2 separate regions of the Homo sapiens genome follow, and region 2 is linked to region 1. Evidence: promoter capture Hi-C in 16 types of primary human blood cells and fetal thymus (Javierre and others, 2016). All regions are on one chromosome and are shown on one strand. The core of a region is centred on a gene start or on the middle of the fragment in contact, and the rest is flanking DNA. Distances in the headings are between cores, read along the strand shown.

Region 1 (4,533 bases), core at 1,359-3,858:
TCTGGGGGAGACTCTCAAAGCAAAAGACCTGCCTGGGACACTAGGGAGGGCATTTAACCCTAAGGCTCCACCCAGCAGACTCACTGGGACATTTTGAAAATGTGAGTCTGAGGCCAAGTGTGGTGGCTCATGCCTGTAATCCCAGCACTTTGGGAGGCCAAGGCGGGCAGATCACGTGAGGTCAGGAGTTTGAGACCAGCCTGGCCAACATGGTGAAACCCCGTCTCTACTAAAAATACAAAAATTAGCTGGATGTGGTGGCACACGCCTGTAATCCCAGCTACTCAGGAGACTGAGGCAGGAGAATTGCTTGATCCAGGGAGGCAGAGGTTGCAGTGAGCTGAGATGGCGTCACTGCACTCCAGCCTGGTCGACAAATGGAGACTCTGTCAAAAAGAAAAAAGAAAAGAAAAGAAAACGTGAGTCTGCGTCTCACTGGCTAGGTAACACTGAGCAAGGCACTTCACCTCTCTGAGCTTCGGAATGGGTGTGAGAATGAAACAAAACCACAAGATGAAGGGGCCAGCAGTGTGCCTTGTTTATAACTGAGGCTCCGGAACTGAGGGCCCCCTCCCGCACTCCCCCAGCTACCATCTCTTTGCAGCCCTGCCAAGAAGGGCTGGCTTTCTTTCCCCTTACCTGGTGACCTATTACTGTGTTGCAAACCACCTCAAAATTTGTGGCAGAAATGATAACCCTTTTGGGGCCATCTGGGCTGCTATAACAGAATACCATACATGGGGTGGCTGATAAACACATTCATTTCTCATGGTTCTAGGGGCTGGAAAGTCCAAAATCAAGGCACTGGCAGATTCTGTGTCCAATTCTTGGTCATAGATGGCTGTCTTTTTGCCGTGTCCTCACATGACAGAAGAAGTGAGGCAGCTCTTTGGGGCCTCTTTTGTAGGGGCACTAATCCCCTATAAAAGATTATAGGTTTGACAAGAGGAGGAATGTGATCTTTTGATTTTTAAGGGTCATTCCCCCGGTTTAAATTTGAAGACAAAACTCCCAAGGGTGTGAACAATGCCTTCCTAGTGCCCTCCCCACCACTCAACATCCTCTGGGGATAACTAAGAGAACCCTCAGCGAACTAGAGAGAAAACTATGAATAGAATCTGGTCCCAAGACACCCAACTGGCTCTCTGTGTACTGTCCTGGGGGATTTCAGGAAACATAATCTGTTTCTTAAAAAAAAAAAAAAAAAAAATTCTTATTTGTGTCGCTTAGTCACCCTATCAACTCTCCACGTTTTATCATCAGTAACCATGAAATTGATGTTGATTTAATTCTATTTTGAAAAGAGAAAAAAAAGTAATTTAGACAAAGGTTGCCAGCTGAGGCCATGTGTGTGCGTGTGTGTATATGTGAACACACAGGGATATAGATTTTACATATGTGGACTTTACATATGTTCCTGTGTGTATATTTGTATGTTCACTGACATGTCTGAGAGTGAGCACCACTGTGTGTGTCTGGGCATGTCTGTGAACACGTCAGTGTGGTGTATATCCCTGGCAGCTCCCCATCTCACGCACAGTAAAATCCAAAGTTCTTAGAATGTCACAAAAGTTCTAACCCTGGCTACCTATGTATCCTCGTTTCCTGCGGCCCATCCCCTGGCTTACTCCATTGTGGCCAGGCTGACTTCCATGATGTCACTGAATATATAGATTGAGAAAAGGGCCAATATTATTGACTGTACTTTTTCTAAAAATGCAGTGACTCAGGCAAGAGACGTGAGAATCTGTGGTCTATCCTGCTCATCCTCTTCAGGGGATTCTTCTGAGGGCTGTGCTCAGTCACGGACTCAGAGGCTTTCTGAAATTCTGCAGGCAAGAAAAAACGAGCAAACATGGAGTCTTATGTTTGCCACTCTGTCTCACCCCCTTGGTGTTGGAAACTTGATGAGCATACGAATTAACGAAATCACTACCACCTAATGAAATCACTACCACCTATTAATAATAACAAGTACTGGCTGGGCGTGGTGGCTCATGCCTGTAATTTATGAGCTTTAGGAGGCCGAAGCAGGAGGACTGCTTGAAGCCAGGAGTTTGAGACCAGCCTGGGCAACACAACAAGATACAGTCTGTACAAAAAAAAAAAAAAATGGTGCCACGCAACTGTAGTCCCAGCTACTAGAGAGGCTGAAACAGGATTCCTTAAGCCCAGGAGTTCAAGGCTGCAGTGAGCTAAAATTGCGCCGCTGCACTCCAGCCTGGGTGACAGAGCAAGACCATCTCAAATAAACAAACAAACAAACAAACGAGTACTAAGAGCATGGATGACGGTAACACCCGTGATAATAAATACAGTAGCATGCTGGTTAAATAGCACCGGCTCTGATCCCACACCCCGGGTTCGAATCCAGGCTTTACCACTTAGTAGCTGGGAGAGTTATTTAACTCCTATTTAAGTCTTTTAGAGGAATGAGTTTAGCCACCTAGGCGGGTCCCCCCAGCAAACACGCCTCGCCCGCGACCAGAGCGAAGGCTACAGGTGCCCGCCGGCAACCCTCGGACGCATGCGCGGCCCGGGCAGGTAGGTGGAGCCACGGTGCGGGGCAGTCGGATGGTCGCACGCGGGGGCGGGGCCGCGCCTGCGCAGACCGCCTGTTATGGCGGCCGCCTAAGTCCCACAGAGACGGGAGTCGGGTGGGATCCCAGGCTGGGCCCCGCGGCGGGTAAGTGCCTGGGAGAGGCGGCGGGATAGGGTAGGGTGCAGGGAACCTCCTGGCGCCGAGCCTGACTTTGAAATCCGAGCTCCCACAGATCGGAGGCCCAGATCCCTAAGGCCCGACCCCACTCTTAGCGTCAGTTTCCCCTTCTCAACACGGGTGTTGGGGAAAGAAGTCCACGTCCTCACCTGGGTTTCCATCCTGGGTCCAGGCACCTCTCCTTCGGTTCTAGATTAGGAAGGGAGGGCAGTGCCCGACCTGTGACTGTTTTTTGAGAGGGCAATAGTTAACCCACAAGGGTGGCGTCAGGAAGGCGACAAGACAAAGAGAACGAGTAGCCCCACGGGGGACGTCCCCGGAGCCCCTCACTACCACTCTACGCACCGTGGCCAGGCCACGTCTTTCCTGCCCCCAGCCTGGGCCTTCACACCCTGCCCTCCCCAGCTCCTGGCCTAAATCGTCATGGGATCGCGCCAAATTATTGATTGTTGAGTGAGTTGCAGTTATCAGAAAGAAAGATGAGGAGGGAAGTTATTTCAACACCGTGATCCCAGCACACTGCTTATTTGGGACAACTGACTGGGGACCTATAGGAGAAGAAAGCTGGTAGCGTCTCAGTCTAGCCCCCACAGCCTTAGAAGAGCCAAGAACACGTTAGCTCCTGCTGCAGGGATGAGCCTGCAGCCCTATGGAGAGGTGGTGGGGCAGGTCCCCATCTGCAACCTGGGTCTCCTTTCTCAGCTCTGCCCAGTAAAGAGAGGAGCCCGAAGCCCATACAGACCCTGCATTTCCGGAAAGAGACTTTTCCTGACTAGAGAAACTGTTACCTTTTTTCTTTCTTCCCAGCATTCACTTTAATCATTATTATATTACTATAATGATAGTATTTACTATTGTTGCTTATTGAACGTTTACTATATGTCGTAAGCCCGAAAAGTGGTAATTGTCTCATATACTCCTCTGAGTATATGAGGGCCTGAGATAGGTTCAAGAGGGCCTCCTTATTCCCAGATAGCTGATTCTAGGGAAAGCCACTTAAAGGGAATCTCCTTCATCTGGAACTTACATTGCAGCGTACATTTCTTGGGAAGCCTGGTTGGGTTGAATTTAAAAATGGAAAATTCAACTAGAGATTAAGAATTTGAGTTTTTTTGTGTGTGTCTATACTTAAAATTTGGTGTGTAATATTATGCTCACTTTTGGAAAAAGCAAAGAACATTGATTTTTCTGGGATGTAAGTTTTCCAACAAAATTGCGCTATAGGCCATGCCTGGTGGCTCACACCTATAATCCCAGCACTTTGGGAGGCCAAGGTAGATGGATCTACCTTGGTCAGGAGTTCAAGACTAGCCTGGCCAACATGGCAAAACCCCATCTTTACTAAAAATACAAAAATTAGGTGGACATTGTGGTGCATGCCTGTAGTCCCAGTTACTCGGGACTCTGAGGTAGGATCACTTGAGCCCAGGAGGCGGAGGTTGTAGTGAGCCGAGATGGCACCACTGCACTCTAGCCTGGGCAACAGAGTGAGACTCTGTCTCAGAAAAAAAAAAAAAAATGCGCTATGGCAAAAAAAGAAATGGCATCCTTTGGTTCACTTTTGATTTTTACAGCAATATTAGAGAGGATCTTCCCCACCCCCTTCAAAAAAAACTGTATGTGAAAGTCCTCAGTTTTCCCCCAGGACATCTCTAAGTCCTGAGAGAGCTTGATCTGCCTTTGAAATGAGTGGTAGGTATAAGCTGTATTTTCTCTTCTGGAATCTGGTGTGGTTTTGCCAGTCCGATTGATTGAGTGTTGGCCTTCAGGTCCAGCATTTCTCCATCACTTTCAATGACACCATGAAATTCTGC
Region 2 (4,931 bases), core at 133-2,632, 2.1 Mb after region 1:
AAAGAGAGCTGTTTAGGGTGGCTCCAACACTGCCGTCTCTTGGCTGTTCCATCCATTCTGTCACACAAGCCAAACAGGCGCTAGGTCCCTTTCCCCGTCTCCTCCAACCAGGGCTCAGTAAACAAGGTCTGAGCCCGAGCCTCCAAGTGACCTGACAGCCAGGTCTGTAAGATCACCCTTGAGGAGCTCAGCCAGGCTGAGGGGTAGGGGAATGGGGGCATCAGTGTTTATGAACCTTGAGATCAGCGTTAGGACTCTCCCTCAGGAGAATCTGATGGCTCCAAGTTTAACCCAGTTTCTGTCTTCTCCCCTGTCCTTTTCCTCTAACCCCGCTCCCCTCCTAGTTGTGTGTGTCTGGAGTGTGTGCATTCAGTTATATAACCGCTTTGGTCTCTTCTTGTCCCCAGATTGCTCTTCTAGACATCGATATATGTGGGCCATCGATTCCCAAGATAATGGGATTGGAAGGAGAGCAGGTAATAGCCGGTTACAGAACTCAGGAAATTATTCTCTTAAGGCAAACTCTGTAGCACTGAACTGTCAAACCTCAACAAAGAGGCATGCGGAGCCCATAAATGTTTTTTTGTTGTTGTTTTGTTTTGTTGTTTTTGAGACAAGGTCTCACTCTTGTCGCCCGGGCTGGAGTGCAGTGGTGCAACCTCAGCTCACTGCAACCTCCACCTCCTGGGTTCAAGCGATTCTTGTGCTCAGCCTCCTGAGTAGCTGGGACTACAGTGGTGTGCCATCATGCCCAACTAATTTTTGTATTTTTGGTAGAGACCAGGTTTCACTACGTTGGCCAAGCTGGGCTCCACCTCCTGACCTCTAGTGATCACCTGCCTCAGCCTCCCAAAGTGCTAGGATTACAGGCGTGAGCCACCGCACCTGGCCTGTAAATGTTTATGTGGACATGAGGAGCTCATACATGCTCAGTAGTCCATCTGTCTACTTTTAACAACAACTGTGAGTCTTGGCGGGGGAGGGGCGGGATTGTATATGAAGTCTGTCTACACCATTGGAGAAGCATTGGTTTCGATGCCTCCTCAGAGGGGAAGGGAAACAGCCAGTGAAATGCAGAAGTAAGACACGGAAATTTAGCTCTGACTGGGAACATTAGACCAGGGCTTGCTATGGGTCTGTACCCTGGAAGCAAGGGAATATTTCTGCCCTTGTGGTCTCCCCTGGGGAACTGAGACTGCAGGGCGGGTGAGCGATGTGGGCTGGGGGCAGGGCTGTAGCAGTCTATGTAGTTGCTGGCCTCTTCTTGCTAGCAAGAAGCTCTCCAAGAGAGGATTCCCCCAAGGGCAGTGCATGGAAGCTGGGGCTGGGGGTGCTGGGATGTCCCGAGAGTCTCAAGATTGGTTCTTTCTTTAATTAGTGCCAGGAATGCATTAATCCTGTTTTGGGGATGCAGTGGTGAACAAGGTCCATGAAGACCCCTGTCTGGGTGGGAGAAGGCAGATGCTAGATAATGTGAAACCAACCCAGAGTGAGGGGATGGACAGTAGGGCAGAGTCAGAGGGGCTGAGGGGTGGTCAAAGGTGCCCTCACTGAGGGATAGCATTTGAGCAGAGGATGACAGGAGGGGAGAGCTGGGGGAAGGGCATTCTGGGCTAAGGGAGCAACTGCATGGGCCGCTGACACAAGGTGTCCTTGTGTCCTCAGTGGAGTGACCAGAGGGGCTGGAGGGTGGCCCGAAGCAGATGGGGCCGGCCTTGCAGGCACTTCTAAGGCCTTGGGGTTTGCTTCCGAGGGAGTAGGGAAGGAGAGCGATGTCACCCTGTGAGGCTTGGTCACATACCCCAATGGATTTGGTAGCACACGCCACAGTGAAGGTATAAGCTACTGTCATCACACGTAATTATTTCATGAAACAGAAAATTTTAAAATAAAAGAAAATAGAAGTTTCCCTATTTTCTTCTCCTGCACTATTGGATCATCCTGTTTACCCCTCTTTTAAGACAAATGGACTTAGCAAACGAGTGTAAATAGGAATGAATGGTTTTGTGGGGTTTATTTTATTTTATTTTATTTTATTTTATTTTATTTATTTTATTGAGACAGAGTTTCACTCTTGTTGCCCAGGCTGGAGTGCAGTGTCGCGATCTCGGCTCACCACAACCTCCGCCTCCCGGGCTCAAGCAGTTCTCCTGCCTCAGCCTCCTGAATAGCTGGCATTACAGACACACGCCACCACGTCCAGCTATTTTTTGTATTTTTAGTAGAGTTGGGGTTTCACCATGTTGACCAGGCTGGTCTCGAACTCCTGACCTCAGGTGATCCTCCCGCCTCAGCCTCCCGCAGTGTTTGGATTACAGGTGTGAGCCACTGTGCCTGGCTGGGTGTCTTTTAATAGAACTTCGAAGTCAGTCACAGAGGACCGCATGTTGTGTGATTCCACTTACATGAAATGTGCAGAATAGGTCAGTCCACAGTGAGAGAAAGTGGATTAGGGGTCCTGTAAGGCTGGGAGGATGTGAGACAGACTGTGGGGGGTGGTGACAGCTGAGGGGTATAGGGATTCTTCTTAAGAGTCAGGCAAATGTTCTAAAATTGTGGTGACTGGGTACAGTGGCTCACACCTGCAATCCCAACACTTTGGGAGGCCAAGGCGGGTGGATCACTTGAGGTCAGGAGTTTGAGACCAGGCTGGCCAACATGGTGAAACCCCGTCTCTACAAAAAATACAAAAATTAGCTGGGCATGGTGGCGGGCACCTATAATCTCAGCTACCTGGGAGGCTAAGGCAGGAGAATCACTTGAACCTGGGAGGTGGAGGTTGCAGTGAGTCAGGATCACGCCACTGCACTCCAGCCTGGTCGACAGGGCAAGACCCCATCTCAAAAATAAAAATAAAAAATAAAACTGTGGTGATGGCTGCATGCTTGTGACTGTACAGAAAGCCACTCATTCAATGGGTGAGTCATATTGTCTATGAATCATGTCTCAGTAAATCTGTTGAGAAAAGTAAGGCTTCATCAAGAAAATTAAACTTTCAGTGTGCGCTTTGTGTGCTGCTGGACACCTGCTGGGGGGAAGAGGTCTGAATCTTGTTGCCCCAGGAAGCTCCCCTTTGTGGCTGGAGCTGATTGGGGACAGGTTCTGAATCAGCTGTTTCGTGAGAGCTCATTCCCTTCACTCCTGTGCTTTTACAAAAGCCACCTCATTGCTCCACAGGTATCTGCATTTTCTCATCAGTCCCCAGCCGATTTTTATGACTCTTTTAAGATACCTTAGACACAACATCATATTTGAACTTGAGTAACTTTGGTTCCCTATCTAGACATCCAAGTAGAGTTTCCAAATAACCCAGCTTAGGGCACAAAGGGAGTTGAGTTGCATCTTTATTACCCACGCCCTAGCTGTTCACCTCCTTTTAGGAATTTCGTGGTACCATGTAAGACAATGAATTATATTTTAAAAAACCATCGTCTTACTTTGTACAATTTGTCTGTGCATGAAATGTGACCAGGGTACATGATTTCTACTAATGAACATCGGTGCTCATGTTCACACAGGTTCACCAGAGTGGCTCAGGCTGGTCTCCAGTGGTGAGTTTTCACCTCTTTGCCCTATTTTCACAGTAGTGTGTGGTTGTGTGTACATAATGGGTTTGTGGTTTGTTGGTCCATAGGTATTTATTAGGGTACTTTTCGAGGCACAGAGGATGTGATTAAAACCAGTGATTGGCAGGCTTTTTCTGTAAAGTGTGGGACGGTAAAGATTTTCAGCATGTGGGCCTACATTCCTTGCTGTTGTAGCACAAAAGTAGTAATATGTAACTGAACAACCAGGACAGTATTCCAATAAAAGTTTATTTACAAACACAGATGGTGGGCCAGATTTGGCCCTGAAGTCCATAGTTTGTAAATCTCTGGTTAAGAGAGTTAAGGAGGCAGGGTGCAGTGGCTCACACCTGTGATCCCAGCACTTTAGGAGGCCAAGCCAGGCAGATCACTTGAGGCCAGGAGTTCGAGACCAGCCTGGCCAACATGGCGAAATCCCATCTCTACTAAAGATACAAAAATTAGCCGAGCATGGTGGCACGCGCCTGTAACACTGGCTACTCGGGAGGCTGAGGCAGGAGAATTGCTTGAACCCGGGAGGCAGAGGCTGCAGCAAGCTGAGATTGCACCATGCACTCCAGCCTGGGCAACAGAGCCAGACTTCATCTCAAAAAAATGAAAAATAAAAAAATAAAAGAGTTAAGGAGATGACATTTACTTATTTTAGCTGAGTTCCCTGTCATTGCCGTCACTGCAGCCCATGGACATACAGTGCCTCTTTCAAATCCCCCAACATGGTACCCTTTTTTTTTTTTCCAAAAATGATTTAGGAGCAAAGAGTGAATATGCTCATAGGTCACATGGTAGTTTTGTCCTGAAAATGTTTTTTTCAGTCAGAGCTCAAACAGAAGACCTGGGGGAGGGCCTCACTGTGTGGTTTTGAGTAAAGCGTGTCTTGCCCTCACCCTGTTCCCTCTGCAGTACGTGGAAGACAACCTGGGGGTGATGTCAGTGGGCTTCCTGCTCAGCAGTCCTGATGATGCTGTTATCTGGAGGGGACCCAAGAAAAACGGTTTGCCACTCTGCCTTTTTTTGTCTCTCACATTCTTCCACGAGCGTTGTGGCTCTTGGCTTTATCTGCTCCCTGTCCTGCCAGTCTCAGCCTGCTGGACTTCACAGTATATTATTTTTAACCATCCAGTGCCTCTTTCTTCACTGGTTGAAAAGAGCTAATAGAAATACCAGTTTCCATTACGTAATTATAAATATCTGCTGTGAGTTTTTCTCTCCTTAAAAGCTGTAGAACCCTGGTCGGGTGTGGTAGCTCACGCCTGTAATCCCAGCACTTTGGGAGGCCGAGGCAGGTGGATCACCTGAGGTCAGGAGTTCAAGACCAGCCTCGCCGACATGGTGAAACCCTGTCTC

What was found. The method cuts DNA at HindIII sites, captures the fragments that hold promoters and counts their contacts. A CHiCAGO score of 5 or more calls a contact.
Region 2: a fragment that was not itself captured here is called in contact with the fragment with the promoter of METTL22 in region 1 in 1 of 17 cell types (non-activated CD4 T cells); the score reaches 6.9 in non-activated CD4 T cells.

Annotation. Positions count from the first base shown.
Region 1 is chr16:8,619,090-8,623,622 of GRCh38, forward strand. METTL22 (methyltransferase 22, Kin17 lysine) reads left to right here and starts at 2,609. Exons shown (of 11, transcript NM_024109.4): 1 at 2,609-2,686. The HindIII fragment of the contact is 6,720 bases long and covers 1-4,533 here.
Region 2 is chr16:10,752,203-10,757,133 of GRCh38, forward strand. It overlaps NUBP1 (NUBP iron-sulfur cluster assembly factor 1, cytosolic), which reads left to right. Exons shown (of 11, transcript NM_002484.4): 4 at 408-476; 5 at 3,519-3,551; 6 at 4,488-4,578. Among named protein-coding and RNA genes, the nearest start is that of NUBP1, 11 kb to the left of the region's middle. The HindIII fragment of the contact is 7,689 bases long and covers 1-4,931 here.